3 separate regions of the Homo sapiens genome follow, and all the other regions are linked to region 3. Evidence: promoter capture Hi-C in human tissues and cell types (Jung and others, 2019). All regions are on one chromosome and are shown on one strand. Each heading gives the region's core, a stretch centred on a gene start or on the middle of the fragment in contact. The rest is flanking DNA. Distances are from core to core; before and after follow the strand shown. Region 1 overlaps F13A1 (coagulation factor XIII A chain). Region 2 overlaps LY86-AS1 (LY86 antisense RNA 1). Region 3 holds the start of F13A1 (coagulation factor XIII A chain).

Region 1 (3,201 bases), core at 447-2,946, 78 kb after region 3:
AGAATACTCTTTTATTCTTCAAAATAGTGCTCTCCCTTCTTCTATTTTTTCCTTTATACATTCAGTAACTTCCCTTGTTCTTATATTGAGTTGCTGTTATTTCACTTTGATGTAAAAGTAGGAAAAGTTATGACAATCTGGACAGCCTGGGGCTATTGGAGTTTCCCAGGAGAAAGCAAGTCCAAAATCCTGTATTCTCATCATCTAGAGATTAGGCCTGAGATATTATAACCTTACATAAGCTAACTTTTGCTTAGGCTCCTTTAAATACTGAGTGGTGCATTTTACCAAGCTATACTGCAGATTGATTTAAGAGAGAAAAGAAAAAAAAGAGAAGCAATTAGAAAAAATGAAGAAACTTGCCCACAGTTATACTTCTCCCTTTAAATTGCATTGCTTGATTGCTGCTTTCTTTTCAATGCATTTCTGATGTGACAGTTCCCACCAGGAAAATTGCCAGAGAAAGCTAAGGAGAATGCTTAACTTTGTGCCATCCGAACACTTACTTCCCTCACATGGCATTAATAAAGCATTCTATTGCTAGCCCCAAGTTTCTGTGAATAAGCCAGACATGGACTCTGAGCCCTGAGTCAGACTATCAAAGAAGGTGGGCCGTGACATATTGTGACAAGGGCAGCATGGTTCTGGGGAAAAGGGAAGGCTGTGCAACCACCTGGCATTACTGCGGCGTGGTTACCTGTCTATGCCTGTTCCTGCCTCCCGACTGATAGGATCTGGCAGCAACTATGGGCAGAGAATTTCCCCCAAGGAGATGCAGCTGCTTCTGCAAAGGCTGCCGCTACTGCAGATAAAGGCTCGTTATTCACTGTGACACACCTACATGTACCACCTCCATCCATATTTGCTCCAGTGGGTCAAGGCATTACCAGTGGAGGATCTGTGTCGAAACACATGCTGAACCAGCGTGTGCAATGGGGAGGACTCTCCAAGAGTCTTCTGGGTGAGGAAGCAGAAGCCCTTGGAAGTGGTGTCCCTCACTCAAAGTCACACAGCAAATAAGTGGCTGAGCTGAAACCAGATATGGTCCTTACTCTCAGATCATATTACCTTAGAGGGCCACTATCAACACGTTATTGCCAATAACACAATAATTATGTAAGATTGAATTGCCATTTCCTAGAAAAGAAGAGAGCCCCAAGGGAATGGAGCCCAGATGAGGCAAATTATTGAAAATGGGGAATAAGTGAAGAAAGGTATCAATCAGAGGATTCTAAATAGCCATAGGCACTGGGGCCCTGGAGAATGAGCTTCCAAAGACGATCAGGTACCAAATATGATATGATAATGGTGGTGGTGTTTGGTGGTGGTGGTGATAGAGTTAGTGATGATGGTGGTGGTGACGGTGGTGGTGATAGTGATTGTGATAATAATGGTGGTGATGGTAGGGTGATTATGGTGGTGATAGTGATGATGATGGTGATGGTGGTGGTGGAGATGGTGACGGTGATGGTGGTGGTGATGGTAGGAGTGATGGTGGTGGGAGTGATGGTGGTAGTGGTGGTGATGGCGTAATGTGGTGGTGGTGGTGATTTATGATGGTGGTGATAGTGGTAGTGGTGGTGGTGATGGTGGTAAAACACTCAGTATTTACTCATTTGTTTGACAAATGTTTATGGCAATCTACCAGTCTGAACACTGGAGTACAATTGTGAACAAAATTAAGTTTCTGCCTTCACAAAGCTTACAGTCTAACAGAGAACACAGACTAGTAAATAGAAAATTTTAGCTCAGCATGGCAAATTCTGTGATGGAAATAAGCATAGGGTTGTATGGGAAAGCAAATCTCTCAAATGTAGCTCAAAGGTTTCCCAGGACTAAACATTGGATCAAAAGATAGAAGAATGTCTGAGGTCCCACAGTAATTAACCATGCTATTATTTGAAGAAACCCTTTCTCCATGGTGGAAATTATATACAAACAGCTAGTCACCAAAAGCACTGAAGAAAAATGTAGTAGAGGGTTATTTGCTCTTCTGGGGGCTTGTTTGTTTTGCAATTCAGAAAACTAAGGTTGACACAACTGAAGTTTATTCCATAGGATCTCAACATTTACAGTTACTTGATCCATGGTATTCTGATTCAGTTGTAGTAAGAAAAAAGGTAATATTAATGAGAAAATTAGGAAAGTAGGAGGAGAGAAAAAAACGTCAATATAGTTACATATTTTTAAATTTCAGTGTTTGTACTGCTGCCATCCTGGACTATCCAGCTTCCCTTGAGATGTATGCATTTATTTTTAACCCTGGCCTTTTGCTAATATCGAACCACAATGCCATCATTAATCCCCATTAATACTTTGCTCTGACTATGCCTTTTGGGAACTAACTCATGACTAAACTTTTTTAACCAATCGATGTTCGATGTACTCTTTAGCATTGTAAAAAAATCTTGAACTTCAGCTAGTAAATCAAACTGACCACAATTCGGAGTAGGTCCTGGATTTTTCTAGGACACAGTACAAGATGAATGACTGTAGACCTTTGAGATGAAATGGACTTTAGTGCTTCTGATCCTCATGCATCTGTGATCCTACAGATAAACAGAAAATAAAGTTATTTTCCCTTTGTCCATCTTTTCCTCCCCCTCTTTTTGTCCCAGTATTTAGAAAGATTTTTTTCTTTCCATGCATGAAAAAGACAGTAATGACATAACTACTTTTATATCTTGCCAAGCAGCTCCTCAAGGGGTTAACTATAAAACCATGTTTTGTTCATTTTCTTTCAATTGTTTACTTGGTCATCTTATAGGAAGCTTCACGTTGAGCAAACCTCTTCATGCAACAAACCTTAATTATAAATATTCAGATTACATTTAAAAGTTCACTTTGATTAGAAATTTCACACCTGAGTCATCCCAAATGAACTGTAAAGACAGAAATAAATATATAAAGTTTGTATTTATTTCTAAAGTTTATTCCTTGATCATACAGACCAGTCACAAGGTACTTTCGTAACAGTTTTATTAAGAAAAATTTTAATTACAAAGCAATATCTAACCCATCCTTTGGTTTATAAAGCAGCTTAAACCTCTTTTTTTGGAGTGAACGGTCGTAGATACATCTGAGGACCCAGGTGCTCAATGGGCATTGTCCTTGGCATTTCTAAATCACCAAGGAACTTTTTCACATTTACCCATATGGATTTTAATTTTTGAAAAAGTTCATCTATCAAAACAAATCATG
Region 2 (2,937 bases), core at 39-2,538, 98 kb before region 3:
TACCTTCCACTCAATTTTGCTGTGAAGCTAAAGCTGCTCTAAAAAATATTCTATTTTATAAAAAGCCAAATAAAATATTTGAAAAATTTAAAAAAGTGGTGAATTCACATCTGTGACTTCTAAGGGGTAAAAAATACAAAGTTTAGTGGAAGCAAATTCTTAACAATGACAATAAGCCTTATTTTTTAAAACTGCTTAATTCCATCTGTTGGCTATTCAAGGTCTTAGGATATACTCTGCCACTAGCTTAATCAGGCCTTGACCTTCTGAAACACATTTATACAGATATCTGTGGTTCAAGTTTCTTCCTCTAATAGTCTAGATTAGAATCCTCTTAGAATGTTCTTTCTAAGAAATAGATCTAATTTTTAAGCAATATTCTACATTTTAAAATCCCTCAGAGGAGACATCATAATTAGCTTAATATAGGTTACAGATGGTTACATAAAGCAATAGTTATAGATATATGCATATAAGAAGGTTAGTGTGCACACATATATACCCTTGCTCTGTCAGCTGAGAGGTCTAGAAGAAGGGCTGTGGGTATACCCCAGTAGCAGTGAGCACACCTAGTGCCCAGATCTTGTTTTCTAATATTAATAGTCTTCAATAAAAGAAACCAGGGCTCCTCAGGGAAATAATAATTCTAGGACCGGGACAGGAAATAGACAAGATGAACTTGAAATATCTTGTAGCTCTAGAAAGTAATGGAAGTATTTTTTTTAAGCCATAATATCGCAAGGTTTGGGGTGGGTGGGAGAAGGGTGTCAAAGAGACACAGGAGTGAATTAAAAGAGCTCCCAGTGGCCAAAACTTTATTTTGAGCAACAAAGTAAAGTAGTATGGAATATAAACTAAAGCATAAAGTAAATATTGATGAGTGCATACTAGTATAAATAAATTATTGATTGAATAAATAAATAACTGGAGAAAAACAGACACATGTCCCATGCAGAATTAATTTAGGTAGATACTCTCCCCTCAAGAAAGGTAAGCATAGTTCTCCACTCTTTAAGTGCAGGCTGCACACGGTAAGTTCCTTCCAAAGAGCATGGCGTGCATTGGAGAAGCCTGACAAACACTACCCTGTCAGGTGATGAAGGCCAATGTCAACAGTGAAAAGACATTGATATCATGTATCCTTGTTGTAGTAGGATGACAATGGCATCTTGCCTCCATGGTCTTCCTCTCTTAAATCCACAATTCCAGCCTAATCACAAGACAGATGTCAGAAAAATCCTGGTTGAAGGATATTCTACAAAACGGTTGACCGGTACTTTTCAAAACTGTCAAGGTCATCAAAAAACAAGGAAACTCTGAGAAACGGTCACAGCCAAGAGGAACCTAAGGAGATAAGAGGACTAAATATAATGGGGTATCCTGGATGGGATCCTGGTGCAGAAAAAGGACTTTAAGTAAAAACTAAGTATGAACTTCAGTTCATAATAATCTATCAATATTGGTTCATTAATTGCAACAAATGCATCATACTGAGGTAAGATAATAATAAGGGAGGGTCTGGTGCAATTACTTGCACCTGTAATCCCAGCACTTTCAGAGGTCAAGGCAAGAAGAAGGCTTGAGCTCAGGAGTTCAAGGCTGCATTTAGCCATGCTTGTGTCACTGCACTCTAGCCTGGGTGACAGAGGTAGACCCTCTCTTAAAATAAATAAATAATCATAAATATGTAAATAAATAGGGGGAAATGAATGTGTGGAGTATATGGAGGCTCTCTGTACTATCTTCTCAATTTTTTTCTGTAAATCTAAAACTATTTTAAAATGAAAAATGTTTATTTAAAAAATCACTCCAGAGACTGTGAAGTGCAGTCTCTTGGAGTCCATAGTGGGAGTGGTGGGTGGAGGGTCCCTAGGCATTTCTAAGCAGTTTAAATGGTTGCGAGTGTAAGGCGTTGTGAATGAATGGTCCACCTCCAGATGGAACTGAGTGCCTCTACACATGTGTGTGCACAGGTATGCAGGGTTCTGTGTGTCCAGCAATAGCTTCTATGCAGGAAAATGAGCAGGTTGTTCAAAGAATATTCTCTCTGCTTAATGAATTAAAAGAGAATGTGTTTTAGAAACACGCAATGTGCACTCACACACAAACACACGCACGCGTTAACAATGACTCTAGGGCAGCCTCATCCCTAGAGCTTTTCCTTTTAACTGCTCTGTCACCATCACAGATGGGTGATCATACCAGTCTTTTTTTCTCTACCAGAAAGTGACACTCCCTGACTCCCACCCTCTGTCCCTCCCCGCCACACCACACCCCACTCTGCTTTGTTCTTCTTTTCAAGGCCTTCTGGCATCACCTCAAAATAAACTAAAATCTCTTCAAACTGGATCCTTGAATAATTCCAGAGGGGAGAGGTTCTTTGTAAATTCTGTTTGCTTACGGATTCCGTACAGTGTTTGCAAATTCTACAGTGTGGGAAACCTCCAGACATATTTAAATCCCTTTTCCAATTACCCAGCTCCATCAAAGATGTCACTGACTTGAAGCAAAAATCCAAAAAGATTGTTTTCTTCAGAGCATGTGTAAAACTCCAGAATTTTTTTAAAAAGCTTGTTGCTTACAGGGTAGCATCACCTGGACATCAAGATGCGTAGCTTCTGGCAGTCCATTTTGTCCTATTGGCTACTGAAAATCAGAGCTGGAGGGGCCGGGCCCTGCTTCTGGCAAGTGGTCCAGTTTCCCAGCATGTGGAGGATTTAGAACAAATTGGAAAAGAACGTTTTAGAGCTGTGCCACCCACATTCAGCTTGGGTGCTCCCAGGAACCACAGCTTAGCAAGAGCTACAAGGAGTTCGTAACAGTTGTCGCTCCCACCTCCCGAAAGGCTCCTCAGTGTTAGAAATCTGATTACCTTGGGACCAGGTTTTTTCCCTGTTTGAGAAGAGCAAGGTGACAAATTGCTAAATATTAGGCCTG
Region 3 (3,228 bases), core at 431-2,930:
TAGATGGAATTTGAAAACTATGGGAGTTCCTCAGACAATCAAGGAATATTGCGCTGCACTGGAGGAAACCACAGAGTGTTCAATGTCAAGGAGGCCTAGGAAAAATACCTTCAAAGACAGAGTTCAATGCTTCCAAAAGGTCAGGTAAATAAGAACTGAATCCTGTCTTTTGGCCTGAGCACAGGCCTTGGAGACCGTGACCTCCACTTTCAGTAGAATGATGAGGCGGAAGCCAGATGGCAGATACTTAGTGATGAAGGGGAGGAGAGGAGGAGTAACAGCAGGAGTGGGGACATAGGTTGGGGGAGGTTTTTAAAAAAATACTGAAGAGACCTGAAATTGCATGAATGCTGAGAAGACCCACTATTAGCAAGCAGGAGCTTGAAGCTGCAAGAGGAAGAGTACGTAAGAGTCACAGCAAAGCCCCGGAGAACAAGGCAACGCAGAAGCCTGGTTTGGAGATGCAGAGGGAGGAGGGACCTTTCCAACTTCAGTAACAAGAAGAAAGAGGAAAAGATAGATAAGGTTGCAGGCAGGTTCATAGATTGGTAGCAGAAAATTGAGAGAATTTCTAACCAATGGCATCTTTTTTTTTCTTCTTTATAACATTGGGAGATTGAGTGGCAGGGTCAGAAATTTGAAGACAGTAAAGAAGGTTAGAAATAGCCATGTTTGACTGGGTGCGGTGGCTCACGCCTGTAATCCCAACACTTTGGGAAGCCAAGGAGGGTGGATCACCTGAGGTCAGAAGTTCGAGACCAGCCTGGCCAACATGGTAAAGCCCCATCTCTACTAAAAATACAAAAATTAGGCGGGCATGGTGGCATGCACCTGTAGTTCCAGCTACTTGGGAGGCTGAGGCAGAAGAATCACTTGAACCCGGGAGGTGGAGGTTGCACTCCAGCCTTTGCAACAGAGCAAGACTTCATCTGAAAGATAGAAAGATGAAAGAAAGAAAGAAAGAAAGAGTAAAAGAAAAAAATTAAAATTTTAGGGGGAAAATTTTCTAATTTTTGAACATGCACTAAAATGATTTTCAGAGAAAACCAAGTGTTATTTTCTAATCTGCATGGCATTATTAAAGATGTTTACTCATCTTCCTTGGGGCTAGGCATCCCATTCCTGCAGGAAGTCTTGTGGTTAGGCGGTGGCTGTGGCTCTGGGATGATTCAGGAATGCAGACCATGCCTTATTTGCACAGGAGGGACACGTTGCTCTCACTGCATGCATGGTCACAACTGTCTGTGTGACCTGTCTGTGGGAGGGCAGACCCCCCTCCTGCCAAGCCACAGTAGCAGCTGACCTGCCAGGCAAAAGCATTCCTTTGTAAAGGAAACCCTCCCAGACCCTCTGACCAAAGGGGACGGGTGGGGACTTCCTGGCACTGCAGGGCCCCTTGCCTGGTACTCCCAGCAACTGGTTGCGGTGGGGAGGGCAGATCTAGGGATGGGGATGGGGAGGAGAAGTGGGAATGGGAAATTGGGAGTCAGAGGGGCAAGTGGGAGAGAAGGGCGCACCTGCCGGGATAACAGGCCAGATGAAGTAAATAGAAAATCCTCTGAGCTCCCCTACTGGCTCCAGCTGTGGAGAAGGGGGAGGAGAAAACCCTGTGGGACAGGGGAGGAGGGTGAGGGCTCCTCTTAGGAAGTTATTTAAGAGCCAACTGTCTTGTCTTTCCCGAGTCCGTTTGAGGAAGTCCCCGAGGCGCACAGAGCAAGCCCACGCGAGGGCACCTCTGGAGGGGAGCGCCTGCAGGTAAGCCACCGACCCTGCACCCTATGAGCCAGGGCCCGCTGCGTCCACCTTCTGCACCTCGGTTTCCTGGTTGAACCAGCAAGCGGCTTGCTCTGGGCCCTGTGGCGCCGGTCACAGGCAGCTCCACTTGCCCAATCCTGGCTTCCCGCCCCCAACTCCGCACCTGCCCAGCCCAGCTTCTAAGCGGGACTTCTCTCAGGCTCTCGAGGCAGCTCTCCCGAAGCCGTTGCTTGCTTAGAATGCCACCAAATGGGGATGGGGGAGTTGGAGGTGCTTCCCCAAGGGACGAGCCCCCTTTCCTCAGGGAGCAGATTATGGAGCTGGAACACAAAAGGTGGAGGGAGTGGGGCCAAGTGAGAACAGCCTGCTAGACTGGAACCCCGCCGGCTTGGCTCCCCACTCCTGCGCGCCTCCCCACTCCTGCGCATCGCCTGCCTCCGTCCCAATTTGGAGCTGAACTCGAGCCACTTCTCCTCCTTAGACCCGCCCAGAAGCGAGGGCTCCTGCCCGCCGCACTCACCCAGCCAGGCGTGCACCTGGGGCTCCCCCCTTCTCCCCCTTAGCACTGTGTCTCCCGACAGCGCGCCACACTGTTCTGCACCCCTGGCAATGCCGCAGCCTACCTTCGGTATTTCTCACTAGAGGATGGCTCTCGCAGCCTTCTCCCTATCATTAACCCTTTTTCGCTCTTCTCCCTCCCTTCCCCCGTCAGCTCACCAATGACTGTAAATATATTTATCTATACTTATGGATACCCATTCACACCTTATGCATCCAAACACTCCTGTCTCCTTCTCAGACCAGACACCTTAGGCGTGGTTGTCTTTTCTCCAGCATGTTGTTAGTGCTCCACATGTCTCTGGAACCATCTCTCTACTCTGGTGGCCTCTATAATGGGGACTCTTCACCTCTTGGGGGTGTGCCTGGTTTTTGAAAATAGCCAAGTCTCCAGGAGTCATGACTGGGTAATCCAGGGGATCAAGGGGGAACCTTCACTGGGCCCAGAAACAAAGTCCCCCTTCATTTGGTCATTTGGTCAACAAGTACTTACTGGGCACTGACCGTCAGGTGTGTGTTGTTTAAACTGGCTCAGTGCCTGCACAAGCTCCAAGGGAAGGGGAAGCAGGCTTGGGGAATGGGAAATGTTGGCAACCCTGACTTCTTAAGCCTATTGATAGCCCTATTGAAAATTGCATGCCCAACCTCTCCACCTCCTTATCCTCCTCCATGTGGCTCAATTTCCAAAGCAGTTCCTACCTCCTCACCCCTAAGTGGATTTACTTATGGCTCTTCTTGGGCTCCACCCTAACCCTATCAGACTATAATCTATCAGAGCAAACATTCTGTTTTGTTCTCTGATGTATCCCATGTACCTAGATCACAGCCTGGCATGTCATAGGCCCTCAATAAATATTGGTTGAATTAAATTGCAAATGTAAACGCTTTAGAAGACAACATTTGTCTGGACATGGT

Evidence for each region. The method cuts DNA at HindIII sites, captures the fragments that hold promoters and counts their contacts. A contact is called where the count stands out against the background at its distance.
Region 1: a fragment that was not itself captured here is called in contact with the fragment with the promoter of F13A1 in region 3 in 3 of the 25 tissues and cell types used here (mesenchymal stem cells, mesendoderm cells and ovary).
Region 2: a fragment that was not itself captured here is called in contact with the fragment with the promoter of F13A1 in region 3 in 6 of the 25 tissues and cell types used here (aorta, dorsolateral prefrontal cortex, hippocampus and 3 more).

Annotation. Positions count from the first base shown.
Region 1 is chr6:6,241,490-6,244,690 of GRCh38, reverse strand. The region is part of intron 6 of F13A1 (coagulation factor XIII A chain); the gene reads left to right. Among named protein-coding and RNA genes, the nearest start is that of MIR7853, 74 kb to the right of the region's middle. The HindIII fragment of the contact is 3,808 bases long and covers 1-3,201 here.
Region 2 is chr6:6,416,980-6,419,916 of GRCh38, reverse strand. The region is part of intron 4 of LY86-AS1 (LY86 antisense RNA 1); the gene reads left to right. Among named protein-coding and RNA genes, the nearest start is that of F13A1, 98 kb to the right of the region's middle. The HindIII fragment of the contact is 7,946 bases long and covers 1-2,937 here.
Region 3 is chr6:6,319,114-6,322,341 of GRCh38, reverse strand. It overlaps F13A1 (coagulation factor XIII A chain), which reads left to right and starts at 1,680. Exons shown (of 15, transcript NM_000129.4): 1 at 1,680-1,755. The region is part of intron 1 of LOC124901253 (a long non-coding RNA gene); the gene reads right to left. The HindIII fragment of the contact is 8,313 bases long and covers 1-3,228 here.